Linked DNA regions of Homo sapiens: region 2 is linked to region 1. Evidence: promoter capture Hi-C in 16 types of primary human blood cells and fetal thymus (Javierre and others, 2016). All regions are on one chromosome and are shown on one strand. The core of a region is centred on a gene start or on the middle of the fragment in contact, and the rest is flanking DNA. Distances in the headings are between cores, read along the strand shown.

Region 1 (6,770 bases), core at 1,472-3,971:
TCAGCCACCGCGCCTGGCCACTTGTTCTTTCTTTCATTCTTTCCTTCACTTGCCAAGGTTCTGGAGACCCACAGAGAGCCCATACTGTCCTCCCGAGACTCCTTTTTGGGAGGGCAACCCACATCTGGGAACTGTGCCCCAGGACAGGATGCAAAGGCACAACAGAGATGGCAGAATCCTGATGTCTGTGCTCTTAAAGGAGGCGTGAAAACAGGCAGGCCAGGCGCAGTGACTAAGGCCTGTAATCCCAGCACTTTGGGAGGCCCACGTGGGTAGATTGCTTGAGGTCAGGAGTTTGAGACCAGCCTGGCCAATGGTGACACCCCAGCTCTGCTAAAAATCCAGAAAATTAGCCGGGCATGTTGGCAGGCACCTGTAATCCCAGCTACTTGAAGCCGGGAGGCAGCCTGGGAGACAGAGCAAGACTTTGTCTCAAAAAAAAAATTTTAAAATGTTTTAAAAATACTTGCTCGGGCCACACCCCAGACTGATTAAGTCAGAGTTTCTTGTAGGTTCTGTTTTTTGTTTTGTTTTTTTTTAGATGGAGTTTTGCTCTGTCACCCAGACTGGAGTGCAGTGGAGCCATCTCGTCTCACTGCAACCTCCGCCTCCTGGGTTCAAGCAATTCTCCTGCCTCAGCCTCCCAAGTAGCCAAGATTACAGGCATGCGCCACCACGCCGAGCTAATTTTTGTATTTTTAGTAGAGATGGGGTTTCTCCATGTTGCCCAGGCTGGTCTTGAACTCCCAACCTCAGGTGATCAACCTCAGGTGATCCACCCGACTCAGCCTCCCAAAGTGCTGGGATTACAGGCGTGAGCCACACTGCCCAACCGCCGGTTCTTTTTTTTTTTTTTTTAACTGTTCAGGCAATTCCAACATGTGCTCAAACTGAAAACCAGGGCTCTCTACTCTCTTAGCAGGTGTTTTCTCCCTTTGTCTACCGTGACGGAGATTACTGATCTCCTGTGGGCTGAGCTCTGTGGTCAGGGCTTGTCCTTATCTGGCCAGTCCTCGGCACCACAAGTGACTGCCTTCACCCCCTCTTGGCCCCTGTCTCTGTCTCCTGGTTCCTCTTCTCTCTACTACCTCTAACCTCTGGGAATCTGGTGTGTCCTCGGGTCCTCAGACCCCCTCACTCCTCCAGAACTGCAAAGCCTTTTTTTTTTTTTTTTTTTGAGATGGAGTCTCTCTCTGTCACCCAGCATGGAGTACAGTGGCGTGATCTTGACTCTGCAACCTCCGCCTTCAGGGTTCAAGTGATTCTCCCACCCCAGCCTCCCAAGCAGCTGGGACCACAGGCGTGCACCATCACACCTGGCTAATTTTATATTTTTTGTAGAGATGGAGTCTTGCTACATTGCCCAAGCTGGTCTTGAACTCCTGGGCTCAAGTGATCCTCCTGCCTCAGCCTCCCAAAGTGTTAGGATTACAGGCGTGAGCCACCGTGCGTGGCCCAGGTGCAAGGCCTTTGACACCACTCACCCACCGACCCCCAAATCTGCTGTACCAGCTAAGCTTTCTGCCCAGGGCGGCAGCCTGGGACATCCATGGCCTGTGATATCTGCCCCAGAACAAGTGAGTCCTGCTCAGAGCCGGGAATTGGATTTCATGGAAGTGTTGAAATGAGGAAGGCGGATGAGCCAACCAGGGCAGACAGCAGAGGCCTCACCCGGTCACATGGGCCCCCACGTCCTGGGCCTCTGGGCCTCCCCAGGAGCCTCCTAAACCCCAGAGCTGTCCGTACCCCTGATCTGCTGAGATCTCCCCATCCTGTGGCTCTCTAGCCCAGGAGGTCACCAGGGCCTGGCATGGAGTCCTCCCTGGAGTCCAGAGATGGGGACACCAAAGTAGTAGGAATGATGGGGACTATAGAGAGTAAGAAACTAGTTGGCCAGGCGTGGTTGCTCACGCCTGTAGTCCCAGCACTTTGGGAGGCCGAGGCGGGCAGATCATCTGAGGTTGGGAGTTTGAGACCAGCCTGACCAACATGGTGAAACCCCGTCTCTACTAAAAATACAAAAAATTAGCCGGCAGTGGTGGCACATGCATGTAATTCCAGCTACTCAGGAGACTGAGGCAGGACAATCGCTTGAACCTGGGAGGCGGAGGTTGCAGTGAGTCGAGATTGCGCCACTACACTCCAGCCTGGGCAACAAAGTGATACCCCGTCTCAAAAAAAAAAAAAAAAAAAAAAAAAAGAAAGAAACTAGTGACCATGTTAGGAACATGCGGGCAACCAGTGCCCCAAGCTTGGGACAGTAGCAGGCAGGACAGGAATTCAAGCGAAATAGAAGTGCCCAGCAGGGGCCGGGGCAGTGGCTCACACCTGTAATCCCAGCACTTTGGTAGGCCGAGGCGGACCGATCCCTTGAGGTCAGGAGTTTGAGACCAGCCTGCCCAACATGGTGAAACCCCTTCTCTACTAAAGATACGAAAAGTAGCCAGGAGCGGTGGTGCGCGCCTGTAATCCCAGCTACTCAGGAGGTTGATGCAAAAGAATTGCCTGAACCCGGGAGGCAGAGGTTGCAGTGAGCCGAGATGGCACCATGGCACTCCAGCCTGGGCGACAGAGCAAGACTCAGTCTCAAAAAAAAAGAAGTGGCTGGCAGGATCTGGAGACGGACTGGAGCCTCCCCACCTCCTTCCCTTCCTCCTCTGCCCTCCCCCGCCCCACCTCTAGCAGCCCCCACCCTGTGTGCTGACCGTGGAGCAGAAGCCACAGTCACTTCCTGAAGGCAGCGGCCCCAGCTCGGGTCCCACTCATCCCATGGCCCATCACCTGCCTGCAGCCATGGTGAGTGCTGGAAGAGGCCTGTGCCTCACTGGCTGGGAAGCAAGGGACACAGATGTTCCCAGAAGGATAGGATCCACCTGTGGAGGGGCGGGCGGGGGGGCGGGGGGTGGCTGCGAAAGACATCTGGGAAACGGGAAGGGTCGGCAAAAAGGACCCGAGGTAGGCGGCCACCAGGCACACCCCAGGACAGCGCGGGCTCCTGGGGGTTCACGCTCAGGTTGGGACTGCGAGGGGGACAGATGGGACTCCCCGGGGGGACAACTCCCGTCTCCCCAGGTCAACATGAGCAGCCATGTGGGAACGGGCTGCTGGGGTGAGAGCAGTGCTTTCCTGCGGGGTGACAAAGTGGGTCATGACCCTCCCCCGTCCAGTCACCCAAGTTGTGACCTGCTAACCCTGACTTATCTAGCCCTGTGGTCGCCCGGGAGCACTTCCTTCAAACCACTCGGGGCTTTGACAGGGGCACTTCAGGCCCCAGGTGGGAATTGCTGCCTTTCCAAGGAGCAATCCTGGTCTCTGGTCCTCTGGATGGGGAAAGTGAGGCACACGCAGGAAGCAAAGGCCACACGTTTCTGCCCTTTCCCTCCCCCAATCTCCTTGACCACAGGTGAAAGGGGCGTTTGTAGGACTAAGGAGGCCTGGCCTTCTTGTGAATCTGCCTACCTCTGTGAGGAGTGGTTGCAGGGCCAGCTAGGAGGGCAGCTGGGACAGCTGGGTATGCAGGAGACAGCGCCTGTGCCCACGGTGTCTGCACCAATCCTCTCAGGCACTGTCAACTGTGAGCATTCCTGACCATCAGCCCGCATGTCAGAGACGGTGTGAGAGGGACCGCATGGCCGTCTCCAGGCATCTCTGTGTTTTCCTGATGGTCAGGCTGAGTACATGGCTGTCTTTGTGCTGCCTGAATATTGTTTATTTCAGCAAATATTTACTGAGCACCTACCATGTTCCAGGCCCTGGGAAGACAGCAATGAATGAGCCAAGTCTCTGCCTTGCAGAGGCTGAGGAACTGAGGGAAGTTGTGGTGTAGAGAGACAAAAAAAAAAAAAAAAAAAAATCAAGACACATTAAAAACAATGTAAAATAGTATAATACGTAGGGGTGGGTACGATGGAGAAAATCATGCATGCTGAATGCAGGGCAGTAGTGGGATGGGGTGATCCATTTAAAATAGGGTGGTCTAGGCCAGGCGTGATGGCTCATGCACTTTGGGAGGCCGAGGTGGGTGGATCACTTGAGGTCAGGAGTTCGAGACCAGCCTGGCCAACATGGTAAAACCCTGTTTCCATTAAAAATACAAAAAAAATTAGCCAGGCGTCGTGGCAGACACCTGTGATCCCAGCTACTCAGGAGGCTGAGAATCGCTTGAACCCAGGAGGCGGAGGTTGCAGTATGGCGAGATTCCACCACTGCATTCCAACCTGGGTGACAGAGTGAGACTCCGTCTCAAAAAAAAAAAAAAAAAAGAAAGAAAGAAAAATAGGGTGGTCTAGGTTGGGCACGGTGGCTCACACCTGTAATCCCAGCACTTTGGGAGGCTGAGGCGGGTGGAGGGTGGATCACCTGAGGTCGTGAGTTTGAGACCAGCCTGGCCAACGTGGTGAAACCCTGTCTCTAGTTAAAATACAAAAATTAGCCAGGTGTGGTGGCGAGTGCCTGTAATCCCAGCTACTTGGGCGGCTGAGGCACGAGAATCATTTGAACCTGGGAAGTGGAGATTGCAGTGAGCCGAGATCGCGCCATTGCACTCCAGTCTGGGTGACAGAGCAAGACTCCATCTCAAAAAATAAAAATAAACAAATAGGGTGGCCTTGGATGGCCTCTCTAATAAGAAAATATGAGAACAGAGGCTGGGAGGAGGAAAAGGAGAGACCCAGGTGGTGCAGAGACATGTCCTGGGTCAGGGACAGGGCAGAGGCCCCGAGGTCGGAGGGAAGTGTTCAGGGTGCAGGGAGGAGAAGGTGGCTGGGTAGGGAGGCTGGTTCGCCCAGGCTTTTATGAGGCATTTAGCTTGAACTGTGGGGACATGAGGAAGCATTGCCGAGTTTTGAGCAGAGGGACACAAACAGACTCAGGGTTCAACAGGCTTCTCCCTCCAGCTGCCATGGGGGGAACTGACCAGGGAAGGGGGTAGGCAGAGGCCCAGGGAAGGGCTTGTTAGAGTAATCCAGGCAATTGGTTGGGGGAGGGCAGACACTGCCTCCCACTACCTCCTGGGGTGACAGTGGTGAAGGCAGTGAGAAGTGGTTGGATTCCGGATGTGTTTTGAAATTAGCACAGAAGGGACTGGGGGCCTGGGCGCGGCGGCTCAAGCCTGTAATCCCAGCTACTGGGGAGGCCGAGGTCGGGGGAATCATTGGAGCCCAGGAGTTGCAAGCTGCAGTGAGCTATGATTGCACCACTGCTCTCCAGCCTGGGCAATGGAACGAGACTGGAGACATGCAGTGGGAGGGGTGAAAGAATGAGGGGGTCAAGGATGCTGGGGGGGTGGGGTACCACCCATGGGGGGAGGGCAGTGGGACTGGAGGCTGCAGGAGGGATGTCGGGATCTCCAGTGCTGCTAGAGGAGGTTGGGTGTGGAATCAGCACTAAATGGAGAAGTAGGGAGGGGTGTCGGTCCCAGGATCCTAGGATCCATGGGGGCTCCTGGGAAAGAGCTGAGGGCTGACCGGGCCTGGGCGCAGGGGTGGTGGTTGTGGGCTGTGCCTGAGGGTCCCCAGGCCCATCCTTCCATGCCCCTTCTGTGTGTTTGAGCCCCTGCCTCATTGGCTCTGCGTCTCCTAGGAGAGCCATCAGGACTTCCGGAGCATCAAAGCAAAGTTCCAGGCCTCTCAGCCGGAGCCCAGCGACCTGCCCAAAAAACCTCCGAAGCCTGAGTTTGGTAAACTGAAGAAGTTCTCCCAGCCTGAGCTAAGCGAGCACCCCAAGAAGGCCCCGCTGCCTGAGTTTGGTGCAGTGTCCTTGAAGCCCCCGCCGCCTGAGGTCACTGACCTCCCCAAGAAGCCCCCGCCGCCTGAGGTCACTGACCTCCCCAAGAAGCCCCCGCCGCCTGAGGTCACTGACCTCCCCAAGAAGCCCCCGCCGCCTGAGGTCACTGACCTCCCCAAGAAGCCGTCCAAACTGGAGTTGAGTGACCTCTCCAAGAAGTTCCCACAGCTGGGGGCCACTCCGTTTCCAAGGAAGCCCCTGCAGCCTGAGGTCGGTGAGGCCCCTTTGAAGGCCTCGCTGCCGGAGCCTGGTGCGCCGGCCCGGAAACCCCTGCAGCCCGACGAACTCAGTCACCCCGCCAGACCCCCCTCCGAACCCAAATCCGGCGCATTCCCCAGGAAGCTCTGGCAACCCGAGGCCGGTGAGGCTACCCCGAGGTCCCCGCAGCCTGAGTTGAGTACCTTTCCCAAGAAGCCTGCGCAGCCTGAGTTCAACGTGTACCCCAAAAAGCCTCCGCAGCCTCAGGTCGGTGGCCTCCCTAAGAAGTCCGTGCCGCAGCCTGAGTTCAGCGAGGCCGCTCAGACTCCCCTCTGGAAGCCTCAGTCCAGCGAGCCGAAGCGCGACTCCAGCGCCTTTCCCAAAAAGGCCTCCCAGCCTCCGCTGAGTGACTTTCCCAAGAAGCCTCCGCAGCCTGAGCTTGGGGACCTCACCAGGACCTCCTCAGAGCCCGAAGTCAGCGTGCTTCCCAAGAGGCCGCGGCCGGCCGAATTCAAAGCGCTCTCCAAGAAGCCCCCGCAGCCCGAGCTGGGCGGCCTCCCCAGGACCTCCTCAGAGCCCGAGTTCAACTCACTCCCCAGGAAGCTGCTGCAGCCGGAGCGCCGGGGGCCACCCCGCAAGTTCTCACAGCCTGAGCCCAGCGCTGTCCTCAAGAGACACCCGCAGCCTGAGTTCTTCGGTGATCTCCCTCGAAAGCCTCCACTCCCCAGCTCCGCTTCCGAGAGCTCACTGCCTGCGGCCGTGGCCGGCTTCAGCTCCCGGCACCCGCT
Region 2 (6,770 bases), core at 2,059-4,558, 130 kb before region 1:
AACTAATCCTTACCCCATGTGTGGTATATGCCAGACACTGGCCTATCACTTTACACATATTAATTCATGTCGTCCTTCCAACAACTCCTTCAGGTAGGTGCTATTATCATCCACCCAGCAGCCAGAGAGGACACCCTCAACACATCCCAGGGTAAAAGCTTGAGTACTTTCTGCAAATCTTTTTTTTTTTTTTTTAATTTTCTTAAGAGATGGTCTGGCTCTGTGACCCAGGCTGTATTGCTGTGGTGCGATCATAGCTCACTACAGCCTCAAACTCCTGGGCTCAAGCGATCTTCCTGCCTCCTGAGTAGCTGGGACTACAGGCACATGCCACCATACTTGGCTAATTGTTGCGTTTTGTTTTGTTTTGTTTTGTTTTTGTAGAGGCAGGGGTCTTGCTATGTTGCCCAGGCTGGTCGCAAACTTCCAGGCTCAAATGATCCTCCTGCCTCAGCCTCCCAAAGTGCTGGGGTTACAGGTGTGAGCCGCCATGCCTGGCCTGCCATGCCTGTAACTCTTGAGATCTTGCAAGCTCTCCTTCCCCACAACACCCACTGTCACCTCTCTGCCTTTGCCCTCCTTCCTCTCACCCCTTCTATCACTCTGCTCCAACCACATGGACCTCCTCACTGTTCCTTAAACAGCCAAGTAGGCCGGGCTCAGTGGCTGACACCTGCAATCCCACCACTTTGGGAGGCCGAGTCGGGCAGATCACTTGAGGCCAGGAGTTTGAGACCAGCCTGGCCAATGTGGTGAAAGCCTGTCTCTATTACAAATACAAAAAATTAGCTGGGCATGGTGGTGTGCGCCTGTAATCCCAGCTACTCGGAGGCTGAGGCAGGAGGATCCCTTGAACCCGGGAGGCAGAGGTTGCGGTGATCCAAGATTGTGCCACTGCACTCCAGTCTGGGCAACAGAGCGAGATTCCATCTCAAAAAAAAAAAAAAAAACAGCAAAGTAAATTCCTGCTTCAGGGCCTTTGCACTTGCTTTGCCCTCTGCCAGAAAGACTCTCCCCTCCCCTCCATCCCCCTAGAAGCACCTCACTCTCCTCACCTTCCCCGGGAGGTCCCCCCACCTCTAAAGCTGCAGCCTCTTCCCCATGTACACAAACGCAGCCCTACCACCCTGTGACATACTGCAGACTTGACCAACTCTTCATCTTTATTTCTGCCTTCCTGGCCCACCAGGGCAGGCATTTGGGTCTGTTTTGTTCGCCGCTGCAACCCCCAGTGCTTGGAATGGAGCCTGGCACGCAGGAGGTGTTCGTTCCGTAAATATTTGTTGAATGAATGAATCCACACTGAAAGAGGAAACGGGCAGGAGAGAAGTTGGGCAATTCGCCCAAGGCCCCACAGTCCTTAAGTGGCAGAAGCAAGACGGGAGCCCCCACAGTTCAACTGCACAGGCTTCCTAACCACTGTGTGAGGTTTTCCCCCAGGCACATCCCTTTGCACGCCCACAAATGCACACAGCGGCTAACGCACGTGCACACTCATGAACGCACGTGTAAATTCCACCACCAACAGGATAAGTGTGCGCACTTCTAGCATCACACAGCATAGCGTGTGACGCCTGGCTTAGCGTTTACCGCGGAATGGCAATGAGTTCGTTGTAGAATCTAGGGGTGAGTGTGCCTGTGCCCAATTCTTTCCATTTTTCTGTGTGTTGGAAAGAGTTTCTAATGTTGAGAAAATTTGACTTCCCATAGCATCTACTGATCTTTGCTCTATTAAGGTGGCCTGGCAAGGTCATGCTGGCACTAACCTGTGTTGGGGAAAGGTCTATGAAGTCCTTCTCTGTTCTACAAGAGCAAGGGGACTATGTGGAGGCTTTTTGTTTTTCTTTTTCTGTTCTTTTCTTTTTTTTTTTTTTTTTTTTTTGAGACCATCTTTAGTCTTGCTCTTGTCGCCCAGGCTGTAGTACAGTGGCGCAATCTCAGCTCACTGCAATCTCCGCCTCCCTGGTTCAGGTGATTCTCCTGCCTCAGCCTCCCAAGTAGCTGAGATTACAGGCATCTGCCACCATGCCTGGCTAATTTTTTGTATTTTAGTAGAGATGGAGTTTCACTATGTTGGTCAGGCTGGTCTCAAACTCCTGACCTCAGGTGATCCACATGCCTCAGCCTCCCAAAGTGCTGGAATTACAGGCGTGAGCCACTGCACTCGGCCTTTTTTTTTTTTGAGATGGAGTCTCACTCTGTCGCCTAGGCTGGAGAGCAGTGGTGCAATCTCGGGTCACTGCAACCTCCACCTCCCCAGTTCAAGCTATTCTCCTGCCTCAGCCTCCCAAGTAGCTGGGACTACAAGTATGCACCGCCATTCCCTGCTAATTTTTGTATTTTTAGTAGAGAAGGGGCTTCACCATGTTGGTCAGGCTGGTCTCGAACTCCTGACCTCAGGAGTTGCTGAGTTCTATGGTAACTTTGTGTTTAAGGTTTTGTTTTGGTTTGGTTTTGGTTTTTTTTCTATTGCCCAGGCTGGAGTGCAGTGGTGTGATCTCAGCTCACTACAATCTCTGCCTCCTGGATTCAAGTGACTCTCCTGCTTCAGCCTTCTGAGAGCTGAGATTATATGTGTGCGTCATCACACCCGGCTGGAGTGCACAGTCCTAGCTCACTGCAGCCTCGAACTCCTGGGCTCAAGTGATCCTTCTGCCTTGGCCTCTTAAAGTACTGGGACTACAGGTATGAGCCACCACATTCAGCCTTGCCCATTTTTTTAAAAACTAGGCAAGGATTTGGTTAGAATGAAGATTCTGGCCTCCCCTCCAGGCACCCTGTCCTATACCTCACCTGATTCGCACTTCTATATCTTCCCCTTGGCCCCAGCTCTATCCCTGACTGTCCCCCTCCAGTATCCAGGGGACCAGTGTCCTGTCTCTCCATACAAAAGCCTCCATATAGGCCAGGCGCAATGGCTAATGCCTGTAATCCCAAAACTTTGGGAGGCCAAGGTGGGCGGATCACTTGTGGTCAGGAGTTCGAGGCCAGCCTGGGCAAAAGGGTGAAACCTCACCTCTATTAAAAATACAAAAATTAGCCAAGCATGGTGGCTCACGCCTGTAATCCCAGCACTTTGGGAGGCCAAGGCAAGCTGATCACCTGAGGTCGGGAGTTCAAGGCCAGCCTCACCAACATGGTGAAACCCCGTCTCTACTAAAAATAAAAATTAAAAAAAAAAACATAGCTGGGCATGATGGTGCATGCCTGTAATCCTAGCTACTCAGGAGGCTAAGGGAGGAGAATTGCTTGAACCCAGGAGGCAGAGGTTGCGGTGAGCCGAGATGGCGCCATTGAACTCCAGCCTGGGCGACAGAGCAAGACTCTGTTTCAAAAAAAAAAAAAAAAAGATGGAGTCTCGCTGTGTTGCCCAGGCTGGAGTGCAATGGCGCAATCTCGGCTCACTGCAACCTCCGCCTCCCAGGTTCAAGCATTTCTCCTGCCTCAGCCTCCCAAGTAGCTGGGACTACAGGCGTGTGCCACCATGCCCAGTTAATTTTTGTATTTTTAGTAGAGACGGGGTTTCACCATGTTGGTCAGGCTGGTCTCGAACTCCTGACCCCGTGATTCACCCGCCTCGGCCTCCCAAAGTGCTGAGATTACAGGCATGAGCCACCGCGCCCAGCCGAAAATAAAATTTTTTTAAAAGGCTGGTTTTGGCTGGGTGTGGTGGCTCATGCCTGTAATACCAGTACTTTGGGAGGATGAGCCGGGTAGAACACTTGAGGCCAGGAGTTCAACACCAGCCTGGGCAATACGGTGAAACCCCCTCTCTACTAAAAATACAAAAATCAGCTGGGTGTGGTGGTGCGCACCTGTAATTCCAGCTACTCTGGAGGCTGAGACAGGAAAATAGCTTGAGCCCAGGAGGCAGAGGTGGCAATGAGCCAAGACTGCACCATTGCACTCCAGTTTGGGTGACAGAGCAAGACCCTGTCTAATAAATAAAAATAAATAAACAAATAAATAAAGAGAGAAAGAGAAAGTCAGAGACAGAGAGAGAGAATAAGGACTCATAGGTATTCACCGTAGAGAAATGGAAACTTACCCTCACACCAAAACTTGCACATCAACGTCTGGCACATTATTTATCATCGCCTATGAATTTGGGCATTCGTCACCAAAACTGGAAACAACTCACGTGTCTGTCAACAAATGAATGGATGCATGGTGACACATCCATACCAGGGACTCCTCAACAGTAAAAGAAACAAAAAATGCTACACCCAACAACGTGAATAAGCCTCAAATGCATTCTGCTGCCTGGAAGAAGTATGCGCCAAAAGCTGCCTATGGTACGATTCCATTGACATAATATCCTGGGAAAAGGCAGAAATATAGCAACAGAGAGGAAGTCAGCAGGGGCCAGGGGCTGGGACTGAGGGAGAGAAATTGACTCCAGAGGGGCACGCAGGAATTGCAGGAATTGGGAGGGAAAAAGGTATTCTGTATTTCTTTTTTTTTTTTTTTAATTTTTTTTTTTTTGAGATGGAGTCTTGCTCTGTTGCCCAGGCTGAGGTGCAGTGGTATGATCTCGGCTCACTGCAACCTCCGCCTCCCAGGTTCAAGCGATTCTCCTGCCTCAGCCTCCTGAGTAGCTGGGATTACAGGTGCCCACCACCATGCCCGGCTAATTTTTGTATTTTTAGTAGAGACAGAGAGTCACTATGTTGGCCAGGCTGGTCTTGAACTCCTGACCTCAAGTGATCCACCCGCCTCAGCCTCCCAAAGTGCTAGGATTACAAGTGTGAGCCACCAGGCCTGGCCGGTATTCTGTATTTCTATTGAGGTTGTGGTTATAGGGTTGTGTGGTTTGTCAAATATCACAGAATCGTATACTAATATGTATGGGTTTCACTGTCAGTAAATTACACTGGTTTTTTTGTTTTTTTGTTTGTTTGTTTGTTTGTTTGTTTGTTTGTTTGTTTGTGATAGGGTCTTGGCTAAAGTGCAGTGGGGCCATCTTGGCTTGATGCAGCCTCGACTTCCCGGATTCAAGTGATCCTCCCACCTTAGCCTCCCAATTAGCTGGAACTACGAATGCACACCACTATGCCCAGCTAATTTTCTGTTTTGTTTTTTGTAGAGACAAGGTCTCACTGTGTTGCCCAGACTGATCTCCAATGCCTGAGCTCAAGCGATCCGCCCGCCTCAGCCTCCCAAAGTGCTGGGACTATAGGCCTGTGCCACCACACCTGGCCAGTAAATTACACTTTAATTTTTACTTAAATGAAAGGAAAAAACATTACAATAATAAGGCCCAGCATTTTGGTAGGCTGAGGCAAGAGGATTACTTGAGGCCAGGAATTTGAGAGAGATCCCATCTCTACAAAAAATAAAAATTAGCTGGGTGTCACGGCATGCGCCGATAGTTCCAGCTACTCAGGAGGCTGATGTGGGAGAATCATTTGAGCCCAGACATTCAAGGCTGGATTGCACCACTGCAATCCAGCCTGGGCAACAGAGTGAAACCCTGTCTCAAAAAGAAAAAAAAAAGAGGCCAGGCAGGGTGGCTCACGCCTGTAATCCCAACACTTTGGGAGACCAAGGGGGTGGATCACTTGAAGCCAGGGGTTCAAGACCAGCCTGGCCAACATGGTGAAACCCCTTCTCTACCAAAGATACAAAAATCAGCTGGGCATGATAGCACACACCTGTAGTCCCAGCTACTTGGGAGGCTGAGGCAGGAGAATCGCTTGAACCTGGCAGGTGGAGGTTGCAATGAGCCGAGATGGCGCCACCGTACTGCAGCCTGGGTGACAGAGCAAGACTCTATCTCAAAAAAAAAAGGAAACAAGAAAGCAAGCAAGAAAGCAAAAAAGAGAGAGAGAGAAGGAAAGAAGGGAGGGAAGGAAGGAAGGAAGGAAGGAAGGAAGGAAGGAAGGAAGGAAGGAAGGAAGGAAGGAAGGAAGGAAGGGAGAAAAGTTATACTAATGATAACTGAGTAAGAAAGAAAGCTATACTCCCAAATCCACTTCCTCCCCTTCCACAACCTCCTGTCCAGCCTCGACATCTGTCTCTCCCTCCCCAGGACCCTGCTCCCTTGACCAGGAGGCAGGGGGCCTTGTCCCAGGACAAGAGCTGAGTTGGGCATAGCTAAGTTGGTCTTCAGAGGGGGCAGGAAGGGAGGCAGGAAACCATCCTCAGGGCGGCTGGAGGGCTCCTCCCACAGCAGCTGCAGGTGCACTTCCAAGAGCCAGAGGTGGGGGAAGGTAGAGAGAGGGAAAGGAGCTGGCCCTCAGAGCCTAGGCAAGGGTCCAAGGTCAAGGTGTCAAGTTCAAGGTCAAGACACCTTCCCTGTGCAGCCTCAGCTTAGCCGCAGCTTCCCTACCTCACTGCCAATAACACCAACTTTTACTGGAAAAGGGTCCCGATCCAGACCCCAAAAGAGGGTTCTTAGGTCCCCCGCAAGAAAGATTTCAGGGAGAGTCCACGGAGTAAAGTGAAAGCAAGCTTATTAAGGAAGTAAAGGAGGCCGGGCGCGTTGGCTTCCACCTATAATCCCAGCACTTTGGGAGGCCGAGGTGGGTGCATCGCCTTAGGTCAGGAATCCAAGACCAGTCTGGCCAACACGGTAAAACCCCGTCTCGACTGAAAATACAAAAAATTAGCTGGGCATGGTGGTGCACATCTGTAATCTCAATCAGTCAGGAGGCTGAGGCAGGAGAATCCCTTGAACCCAGGAGGCAGAGGGTGCAGTAAGCCAAGATTACACCACTGCACTCCAGCCTGAGTGACAGAGCAAGGCTCTGTCTCAAAAAAAAAAAAAA

The links. Contacts are between HindIII fragments. The CHiCAGO score rates a contact against its expected background, and 5 or more counts as called.
Region 2: a fragment that was not itself captured here is called in contact with the fragment with the promoter of PRAM1 in region 1 in 1 of 17 cell types (naive CD8 T cells); the score reaches 6.1 in naive CD8 T cells.

Annotation. Positions count from the first base shown.
Region 1 is chr19:8,498,591-8,505,360 of GRCh38, reverse strand. It overlaps PRAM1 (PML-RARA regulated adaptor molecule 1), which reads left to right and starts at 2,721. Exons shown (of 10, transcript NM_032152.5): 1 at 2,721-2,796; 2 at 5,581-6,770. The coding sequence starts at 2,770. RefSeq lists an enhancer at 6,166-6,770. The HindIII fragment of the contact is 16,783 bases long and covers 2,254-6,770 here.
Region 2 is chr19:8,633,025-8,639,794 of GRCh38, reverse strand. NFILZ (NFIL3 like basic leucine zipper) reads right to left here. Exons shown (of 6, transcript NM_001378600.1): 3 at 4,049-4,145. Among named protein-coding and RNA genes, the nearest start is that of NFILZ, 5.8 kb to the right of the region's middle. The HindIII fragment of the contact is 6,295 bases long and covers 161-6,455 here.